2 separate regions of the Homo sapiens genome follow, and region 2 is linked to region 1. The links are contacts of gene promoters, found by promoter capture Hi-C in human tissues and cell types (Jung and others, 2019). All regions are on one chromosome and are shown on one strand. Each heading gives the region's core, a stretch centred on a gene start or on the middle of the fragment in contact. The rest is flanking DNA. Distances are from core to core; before and after follow the strand shown. Region 1 holds the start of FBXO47 (F-box protein 47). Region 2 has its middle 12 kb from the start of LINC02079.

Region 1 (5,464 bases), core at 637-3,136:
CAGCGATTGGGGTCAGTATTCAGTGAACACTTAAATTAGGAGGTATTTTAAAATTATCATTAAAATTACACAAATAGGCCGGGCATGGTGACTCACGCCTTAATCCCAGCACTTTGGGAGGCTGAGGCCGGTGGATCACGAGGTCAGGAGATCGAGACCATCCTGGCTAACACGGTGAAACCCCTTCTCTACTAAAAAAAAAAAAAAAAAAAAAAAATTAGCCGGGCATGGTGGCACGCGACTGTAGTCCCAGCTACTCTGGAGGCTGAGGCAGGAGAATCGCTTGAACCCGGGAGGCGGAGGTTGCAGTGAGCCGAGATCACACCACTGCACTCCAGCCTGGGTGACAGAGCAAGAATCTGCCTCAAAAAAAAAAAAAAATAATTACACAAATAACAACTTTACACAATACAGCTAAACAAGAAGAAAAAAATTAAGTTCACTTATAAACACTTTGGTTTATATAATTTCAGACTTTTACATACATATATTTCTTTTTAACAAAAAAGAGGGATCACTATATATAATACTTTGTAATCTGCTTTTTTCAATGAATTCTCTTTCCATGCTAATAACCTTCTACAAGTAATCATATTTTAATGGCTATGTGTCATTCCACCAAGTAAAATAATCTTAATTTGTTTAATCCATAAGGCTGTTTGTAACCTTAACTTTTCACAGTAGGCGTTTTGTTTGTTTGTTTGCGATGGAGTTTCGCACAGTCTCCTGGGCTGGAGTGCAGTGGCGCGATCTCGGCTCACTGCAAGCTCCGCCTCCCGGGTTCAAGCGATTCTCCTGCCTCAGCCTCCCTAGTAGCTGGGATTACAGGTGCCCGCCCCCACGCCCAGCTAATTTCTGTATTTTTAGTAGAGACGGGGTTTCACCGTGTTAGCCAGCCTGGTCTCGATTTCCTGACCTCGTGATCCGCCTGCCCCGGCCTCCCAAAGTGCTGGGATTTACAGGCGTGAGCCACCGCACCCGGCCAACACAGTAGGTGTTTTAAAGCATTTTTATTACAATAGCATAAATCCGGCCTTGGCTTCTTCCTGTTTCTCTGAGAAATGTGGACAGTGGGGCTTGGGCCCGTGGGCTCTTCAAAGACTGTCAGTCACCAGGCGGGGACTTCACTGTGTCAACTGTGAACTACATACATGTTTAAAATAAATATAAACAAAAATTTAAAAATGATAAGCCCAAATTCTTCTAAAACTCAAGTCTCCACTTATAGTTCCTTATTTTCCTCACTCAGAGCTGGACGTTTCGTAGGGAAAAAGCAAGCTTTTGTGAAAATTCTAAAGGTATAATCCTAAATTATTTCTGGTTTCCGCTCACCCCTCTAGCGAATAAGAATCACAGCCCCAAATAATAATAATAAAATGATGTTTCATGCCCCCTGTTCTATCCCACTAATTTTGACCGCGCGTGAAAGGTTTTGAGGGTTCAATTGGATGAACCTCCCCGCCCCCCACACCTTTAAGATAAAAACTACATTCACAGGGATGTCTGTTTTAACATAAAACTCTTGTAAGGGCCCCACCCCATCTGTCGGGCAGCTGCCCCCAAACATCTCCAAAGCCGCAAACTAGGGAAGCCTAAAGGACAAACTGGTCAACAGGAGAATCAGACCACACGGGGTACATGTTTCGCTCCCTTCAGTCCATGAAAGATGAAATTATCGCAATAAAATACTGGGAAAAAAAACCCTCTTTTACCACAGATTTTGACAGTTTTTCCGGCTACAGAGTCACAGGAAAGTGGGAGTTAGTCGTTTTGCCCCACCATCCTCAAATTTCTTAGTGTTTAGAAAAGAAAATATCTCCTCAAGAGCTTCCCGCCAGGAGGCGAGAGGGTCACACTCCCGTAGGCTCCGGAGCTGCAGCCCTACCCACCAGGCGTCCCCGCGGCCTCTAGAATATTGTAGAATCTTCCCAAGAGCCCCCGCGGGAAGGAGGCCCGCCCCCTCATGAATAGCAAGCAGCCTCAGCTCTCGTAGTGCCCGCCTCCCTCATGAATATTGTAGATCTTCCCAGAAGCCCTAGCGGGAAGGAGGTTCCCCCCCGCCTCCCGCCTCCCCGCTTTATGAATAGCAAGAGAGCCAGCTCCCATGGTGCCCTCCGTCTCATGAATAACTAACAAGGGCGAGGTTCCTGGAGCCCAAACTCAGGCCTCAGCCACCCTTCGCTCCAAGCTGAAGACAAGAAGGGGCTGGAGCCGTTACGGTGTGGGGAAGGGGAGGGTGTAGCCCAAGATCCTGAACGTGGCGAGCCACGTCTCTGCTCCACTGCCTTTCCCTTCACCTAGTTTTGAGACAATTTTTGAGTTCCTCCCACCCCCACTGACTCCAGTAGGGCAAGTTACAAGGGGTTTCATCAAACCTTTTGGTGGAAAAAAACCTCCAGACATTCCTTTTTAAATTTGTCTTGCCGGTGCGGTGGCTCACGCCTGTAATCCCAACACTTTGGGAGGCCGAGGCGGGAGGCTCCCTTGAGTCCAGGAGTTTGAGACCAGCCTGGGCAACATAGGGAGACCCCCACCCCCAGCCATAACCCCGCTCCCGGTCTCTAAATAAACACATAAATAATAAATCTGTCTGGAATCAAAGGAAGATGTGTGTCTCCATCCTCTCAAGATGAAATCAAGACAAATCTTTCTAGCTAGGCCTTCCTGGCTAGAAGATTAAATTCTCATTCATTCATTTCTTCATTCATTCTGTAACTATTTATTGAAGCCTGCTCTGGGCCGGGCACAGGAGTAGGCCCTAAGGATGGAATAGAGAACAAGACAGATACGTTTCCTGCTTTAATGGAGTTTATTAGCCTAATGGGGAAGATAGAATGAACAGACAGAGCATCTACAGATGTTGAGAGCAGTTCCGGTGAGAGCAGCGTGACAGAGGAAATAAGACAGAATGATGGGGTGTGTGTGTGTTGGCGGAGAGCTACTTTAGATAGACTGATACTCAAGGTCCCTTTGATATGACGATTTGAGAACTGATGGAGGAGAAGGAGCCAGTCAGGAGAAGGGCTGAGGGAAGAGGGAATGGGGGAAAGATTCTACTTTTGTAGATCAATTCTACATTATACCCAACACAAAATATATAAGGAACTACATAAAGACTGAGTGGAAATTTAGGATTAGTTGGCATGCTGTTATTTTATATAGTCACATATATTCATCCATTTGGCTTTGTATCTTTTTTTTTCCTGACCTCAGGTGACCTGCGTACCTCAGCACTGCAAAGTGCTGGGATTACAGGTGTGAGCCACCACTCCTGGCCTTTTTTTTTTTTTTTTTTTTTTTTGAGACAGAGTCTTGCTCAGTCGCCCAGGCTGGAGTTCAGTGGCACGATCTCGGCTCACTGCAGCCTCTGCCTCCTGGGTTGAATTGATTATCTTGCTTCAGCCACCCAGTAGCTGGGACCACAGGTGGGCACCACCATTGTATTTTTAGCAGAGATGGGGTTTCGCTATGTTGCCCAGGCTGGTCTTAAACTCCGAGGCTCAAGCGATCTGCCTGCCTCCCAAAGTGTTGGGATTAAAGGTGTGAGCCACCGGGCCCAGCCCTGGCTTTGTATCCTTTTGCAGCCAATTCTTTTTTTTTTTTTTTTTTTTTTGAGATGAAGTCTGCCTCTGTTTCCCGGGCTGGAGTGCAGTGGTGTGATCTTGGCTCACTGCAACCTCCACCTCCCAGATTCAAGTGATTCTCCTGCCTCAGCCTCCCAGGTAGCTGGGATTACAGGCACCCACCACCATGCCCAGCTAATTTTTTTGTATTTTTTAGTAGAGATGGGGTTTCACCATGTTGGCCAGGCTGGTCTTGAACTCCTGACCTCAGGTGATCCACCCACCTCAGCCTGCCAAAGTGCTGGGATTACAGGCTTGCGCTACCGTGCCCAGCTGCAGACAATTCTTTTTTTTCCCCCTGTCTCCAACATTGATTAGAGGTCCTTGACCAAGTATCATCCCGTTGGCAGTGGGCCAGACGCACATAATGGAAACAAGGATCCTTAGTGGTGAGAATTTAGCTTTTACTCAAAGTGTCATGGGAAGTGTCATGGGAAGTCCTTGAAGAGTTTTAAGCAGAGAGTGCTATGATCTGATTTACATCATTAAAAGATTGCTCTGGCTTTTATGTGGAGAATAAATGAGGCTAAGAGTGGAGGGTAAGATCTGTTAGGATGTTGCAGGACTAGAATGGTGGCTCTGAGGGATGGGTTTGAGATATATTTTGGTGGTAGAAGTAACTGAATTTACCTAATGGATTGGATATGGGTGGAAGGAAGGGAAAGGAAGGAGACAGGAATAATTCCCAGGTTTCTGACTTCAATAAATGGGTAGAAGTTAATCCCATTTACTGAGATATGCAAGTGAGGAGTTTTTCTAGTGGAGTTTTGTCTTTTCTTTTCTTTCTTTCTTCTTTTTTTTTTTTTTTTTTTGACGGAGTTTCACTCTTGTTGCCCAGGCTGGAGTGCAATGGTGCGATCTCGGCTCACTGCAACTTCTGCCTCCCAGGTTCAAGCGATTCTCCTGCCTCAGCCTCTCCAGTAGGTGGGATTACAGGCATGTGCCACCATGCCTGGCTAATTTTGTATTTTTAGTAGAGACGGGGTTTCTCCATGTTGGTCAGGCTGGTCTCGAACTCCCAACCTCAGGTGATCTGCCCACCTCTGCCTCCCAAAGTGCTAGGATGACAGGCATGAGCCACTGTGCCCAGCCTTATGTTTTTCTTTTCGGAACAAGGTCTCACTCTGTTGCCCAGGGTGGAGTACAATGGTGCAATCACAGGTTACTATAACCTCAAACTCCTGGCCTCTAGCAATCCTCTCACCTCAGTGAAGTGCTGAGATTACAGGCGTGAGCTACCTCGCCTGGCCAACTAGTGGAGAATTAAGAGAATTCTAGTGGATAATTAATTTTCCAAGTGGTAAATTTGAGATTTCTCTGAGGCATCCAAGTGAAGATGTCATGTTAAGGAGGCAGTTGAATTTAAAAATCAGAGTGCTTTTGGAGGAAAATGTCTGGGCTGGAGATATACATTTAAGGATTAGAGGAATATAATTGTAAGCATTAGAGGAATATTGACACTCAGACATTGGGAAAAGGAGGGCAAGATCTCAAAGGAGATTGAAAAGGAGTATCTAGCAAAGTAAACTGGAGAAAACCAGGAGAGTCTGGGGTCACAGAATCCTGAAGCATCGGTGCTTCAAGAATGAGGAGTAGCCCTCTGTGACAAGTGCCACCCAGTTGAGCAAGGTGTCTGTTACATGAGCATTGCAGGTGTCTGCTGGATTTGGCAATCCAATTTAGGTACAAGCACTGCAGGTCCACCTTGTCATTTCCTATTTCAATAACCCATAGTAACTTTGCCTTGCCAACCACCTGAAACTCAAATCTCTCTGCTGTTTCATCAGCGTCCTCTATGATCTGTTGTTCACCTATTCATTCATCCATTTGTTACGTTCAAG
Region 2 (5,050 bases), core at 118-2,617, 71 kb after region 1:
CAGCATTCTTTGTAATAACTAAAAACTAGAAATATCTCAGTATCCATACCCAGTAGATGAATCAATATATTGCAGTAGAATCATATAATGGAATACTCTATTATTCTATTATATAATAATAGAAGTATGTTAATACTTTATATAGTAATAGAAGTATTATTAATACTTATTAAAAGTATTATGTGTGTGTAATACTGAATGGAAGGATTATTAATACTTCTATTATTCATTAGAAACATAATGCAAGCCACATACATAATATTAACTTTTCTGGTAGTCACTTAAAAAATAAAACTAAAAAAGAAACAGGTGAAACATGTTAATATATTATATCCAAAATATTTTCATTTCAACATGCAGTCATTATATATGTTATTAATGAGATATTCTATTTTCATACTAAGTCTTCAAAATATCCAAAGGGGTATCATTTCTACATGTTGTTAGTATAAAAATTAATTGGGGAGTTTACATTCTTTTTTCCATACTAAGTCTTCGAAGTCTTAATTTGGTTGCTAAATTTTTATAAAAAAAAAAACCTTAATCTGTTCTGCTCAGCAGTCTAGGGAGACAAGTAAATAATAATAATAAAAATACTTAACCTGGCTGGATGTTAGGTAGCTCATGCCTGTAATCCCAGCATTTTGGGAGGCATAGGCAGGAGGATCACTTGAACCCAGTGGTTCAAGACTAGCCTGGCAACACAATGAAACCACATCTCTACAAAAAATTAAAAATATTAGCCAGGCATGATGGTGTGTGCTTATAGTCCCAGCTACTAGGGAGGCAGAGGTGGGAGGATCACTTGAGCCTGGGAGGTCGAGGCTGCAGTACGCAGTGATTGTGCTACTGCTCTCTAGCCTGGGCAACAGAGTGAAACCTTGTCTCAAAACAAACAAACAAACAAAACACCTTAGTCTATATTTAGATTTTGTAAAATTTGCAGTTGAAAAAGTAGCATCATATACCCAAGTTGTTGCAAACATAAATTTTCTAATGACTACATTGAGTATCAGCTTTTAAATTTAAAAATAATTAAAATGAATATATTAAAGATTCAGTTCCTCAGTCACACTAGTCACTAACAGTAGCCAAATATAGCTAGTGACTACCTTATTGGAAGCACAACACAGGCCTTGAAATGAATCAATCTCAGCAACATACATCTTAAATGTCCAAACAGATTATTGAGTGAAAGAAGTGATACAGAAAATAATATGTGTAATATGATTTCATTTATATAATGTTCAAGTAGGCAAAACTAAAATATGTTGTTTATGACTGACATATAATAGGTAAAACGACATTTTATTTTATTTTATTTTATTTTATTTTATTTTATTTTATTTATTTTTGAGACAGGGTCTGCAGTGGTGCAAATGCAGCTCACTGCAGCCTGGACCTTCCATGCTCAAGCGATCCTCCCATCTGAGCCTCTCCAGTAGCTAGGACTACAGGTGTGCACCAACATGCCCAGCTAATTTTAAAATTTGTCTAGAGATGAGGTCCTGCTGTATTGCTCAGACTGGTCTCGAACTTCTGGGCTCAAGCAATCCTCCTACCTTGGCTTCCCAAAGTGCTGTGATTACAAGTGTGAGCCACTGTGCCCAGCCAGAACTACATTTTACTTTACTATTTTATTTTATTTTATTTTATTTTATTTTATTTTATTTTATTTTATTTTATTTTTTGAGATGCAGTTTTGTTCTTGTCGCCCAGCCTGGAGGACAGTGGCGTAAACTCGGCTCACAGTAATCGCTGCCTCCTGGGTTCAAGCAATTCTCCCATCTCAGCCTCCCAAGTAGCTGGAATTATAGGCGCCCACCACCATGCCCAGCCAATTTTTGTATTTTTAGTAGAGATGGGGTTTCACCATGTTGGCCAGACTGGTCTTGAACTCCTGACCTCAGGTGATTCACCCGCCTTGGCCTCCCAAAGTGCTGGGATTACAGGCGTGAGCCACTGTGTCAGGCCAGAGCTACATTTTAAAAACAAGAAAATTATTACGAAAGTCAGGATAGTGGATATCTATAAGGGTTAGAGAGGGGGTTGTGATTGGAAAGGGGCACACCTGGGGCTTCTGGGATGCTAGTAATGATCTTTCGTAATGATATTATATGGGTATCTGCTTTATAATTATTAAACTGAATATTTGGCCAGATGCAGTGGCTCACATCTGTAATTGCAACACTTTGGGAGGCTGAGACAGGGGGATCACTTGAGCCCAGGAGTTTGAGACTAGTCTGGACAACAGAGTGAGACCCTGTCTCAGAAATAATAAAATAAAATAAAAACAACATTTATGTTATGTGCACTTTATGCACATTGTAGTTCTCAAATATTTTTAATGGGAGAAAAAAGTCAAATGGCTTCACTTGCAGCCCTGACATAGTTCCATGTGGGGCTTTTATAACAAGGTTTGGGAAAAGAGAGGAGGAAATGGAAGTTCTGCTGATCTTGGTGCCACCCAGAGTTGGATTCTAACAGGGACTTTGTGATCTAGAGAGGAGGCATTAAATATACAATTTGGTGGGAAGAGTGGGTAGGGGTGTGCTTGTGTGTGTGTGTGTGTGTGTGTGTGTGTGTGTGTGTGTGTGTATGTGGTGGTGGTGGTGGTGGTGGTGGAGACAGATGGACACAAAAAGGAAAATGTAAGAAAAGCTTTTAATGAAAGCAGAGCAGATACCACCATCTTGAAATTATCATGACCCAGATTTCCTCCACATGTAGGAGTTAGTCCTGTGTAGCAAATAGTTGTAGTTTGCATTTTGATCTAGAAAATAACTTTTTCATTTTCCAGAATTCTCAATGAAAATTATTTGACTAAATTACATAGGGATTCATTTGAAGGGCCTGCTATCCCTCCAGTATTTGTAAGTTAGTTAGTTAATCATATTTATTAGTTTTTAGTCATATTATCTGTAAAATGAATATAGGGGTTCAAATTAGATAATCTCTAAGATTTCTTTCAGCAATACAATTCTGCAATTCTGTAAGTTTGTATAGGGTCTCAGCCCATCTCTAGCATTAATACCTTCTATGCATTTTCAATTTTTTAATTATATAGACAGAATACAGACAGAAAAGAATTTCACATGGTAATAAGATCTGAGCAGTGATTGACACCCATATGAACCTTGTTTTATAAAAAGTGTTCACATCTCATCTTCCTATATTCAGTCTACAACCAATAGATCAAATCTAATCTACAGTCTGTTTTTAAATAGCCCATTAAGTTAAGAATGGTTTTTACACTTTTAAAGGACTGGGAAAGAAAAAGAAAAGAAACAAAGAGAAATATGCAACAAAGACCACATGCGGCCCACAAAGCCTAAAATATTTACCAACTGACCTTCCCAAAAAAGATTTGGGTCCGGGCACGGTGGCTCACGCCTGTAATTTCAGCACTTTGGGAGGTCGAGGTGGGAGGATCACCTGAGGTCAGGAGTTTGAGACCAGCCTGGCCAACATGGTGAAACCCTGTCTCTACTAAAAATACAAAAATTAGCCAGGCATGGTGGCAGACGCCTGTAATCCCAGCTACTCGGGAGGCTGAGGCAGGAGAATCTCTTGAACCCGGGAGGCGGAGGTTGCAGGATCATGCCACTGCACTCCAGCCTAGGCGACAGAGCAAGACTCTGTCAAAAAAAAAAGAGAAAAGAAAGATTTGAAAAAGTTGCTTTAGTAGAATGAAAGGAATTAAAGTTAACTTCAGATTGTTGCCTAAAGGAGAAGAAAATATAGACTACCTACATTAATTTGAATATCATTAATCCAGAATTTTTTGATAATTTAATCTAAATTAAATTAACATTTATATATTAAATAATAAGCAGCTGAATTATATAAATAATATTATCAAGAATATTAAGCTACCAAAAGAATAGCCTGGTATTAAGGATTTCATTTCAGGAATTGTTATATTAAAACAGATGTTTAAAATGATGGTTAAGTGGTATAGCTAGAGTGTTTATAGTAAGTAAGCATATCAGAAATGCCCCTAACTCTTCACTAATTACAAAATAACTATGTCCTCAGCCCTGTTACCAAGGAAGGGATACCTGCATAGTATTTCTGTCTGTTTAGAGATAAGAAGATACTATGTTCATTGCTATGAAAGCTGGATTTTTATCCTTTGCCCATGGTTTAGAGGTGTGTATGTCATTAATCCTCATTAAGCTCATTAGTGATGCTTTTTTGCAGACAGATTCTTTCAAATGTAGAAGGCTTAAGGAAAGTGGGTGTAAAGACCCTCAGGTGGATGCCAAAGCGCTACAGAGGCCATGAAGTAATAAAACTATATTTCCTTTAAAATAGTCATTTTCCTTCTACTCACTGCCCCAGCTATTCATTTATTTTATAAATATGTGAGTTCATTTTATTTCCATGTGTCAGTTTTAAACATGGTGGGCAACGCAGATGAGCAAGAGCTAGTCCATGCTTTCAAGGAGTTTATGCTCAGAAGAAATGGGATGAAAAATAAGTACATTCAAAAGAAGAAATGGATGTGGGCACTAGGAGGGATACATTGTTTCTGGAGCATAGAAGAGAGGAGATTGACTTCAATTTGGACCCATGAAGATGTTACTAGAACAATGCCATTTGAATAGGACTTTGAAGGGCTGCTGCGTCACATCAGACAAACATGTTGGGGAAAAGATTCTAAACTTGCAAAAGGAAAATGGGAGAGGGGCAAATCACAGGAAAGTATTTGAGGAATACCATGAGTACCTGTAGAGTACAAGGAGGGAGAGTAGGAAATTGGAGCCAGATCTTCTAGGGCTTTGAATGTCAAGCTAAGGGGCCATCATACGGACCAGTGTTATCACAGCAGTGCTGTGAGATAGAGCTGCATCACAATCACTGGGAGGTCGCGTTAGAACTCAGTTCTGCACTCTACCCTCGCAGTTACTGATTCAGTTGGTCTAGAGTGGGACCAAAAATTTGCATCTTCAGTAATTTCCTAGGAGATGCTGATCTTTGCAAGCCACTTCTGGAGAGTTTATCTGATGACTGTGTGCAGGATGGTTTAGGAAGGGAGAGACTAGAG

The links. The method cuts DNA at HindIII sites, captures the fragments that hold promoters and counts their contacts. A contact is called where the count stands out against the background at its distance.
Region 2: a fragment that was not itself captured here is called in contact with the fragment with the promoter of FBXO47 in region 1 in 6 of the 25 tissues and cell types used here (IMR-90 fibroblasts, bladder, pancreas and 3 more).

What each region holds. Positions count from the first base shown.
Region 1 is chr17:38,965,517-38,970,980 of GRCh38, forward strand. FBXO47 (F-box protein 47) reads right to left here and starts at 1,887. Exons shown (of 11, transcript NM_001008777.3): 1 at 1,713-1,887. The HindIII fragment of the contact is 17,690 bases long and covers 1-5,464 here.
Region 2 is chr17:39,036,668-39,041,717 of GRCh38, forward strand. It overlaps the pseudogene LRRC37A11P. Among named protein-coding and RNA genes, the nearest start is that of LINC02079, 12 kb to the left of the region's middle. The HindIII fragment of the contact is 8,693 bases long and covers 1-5,050 here.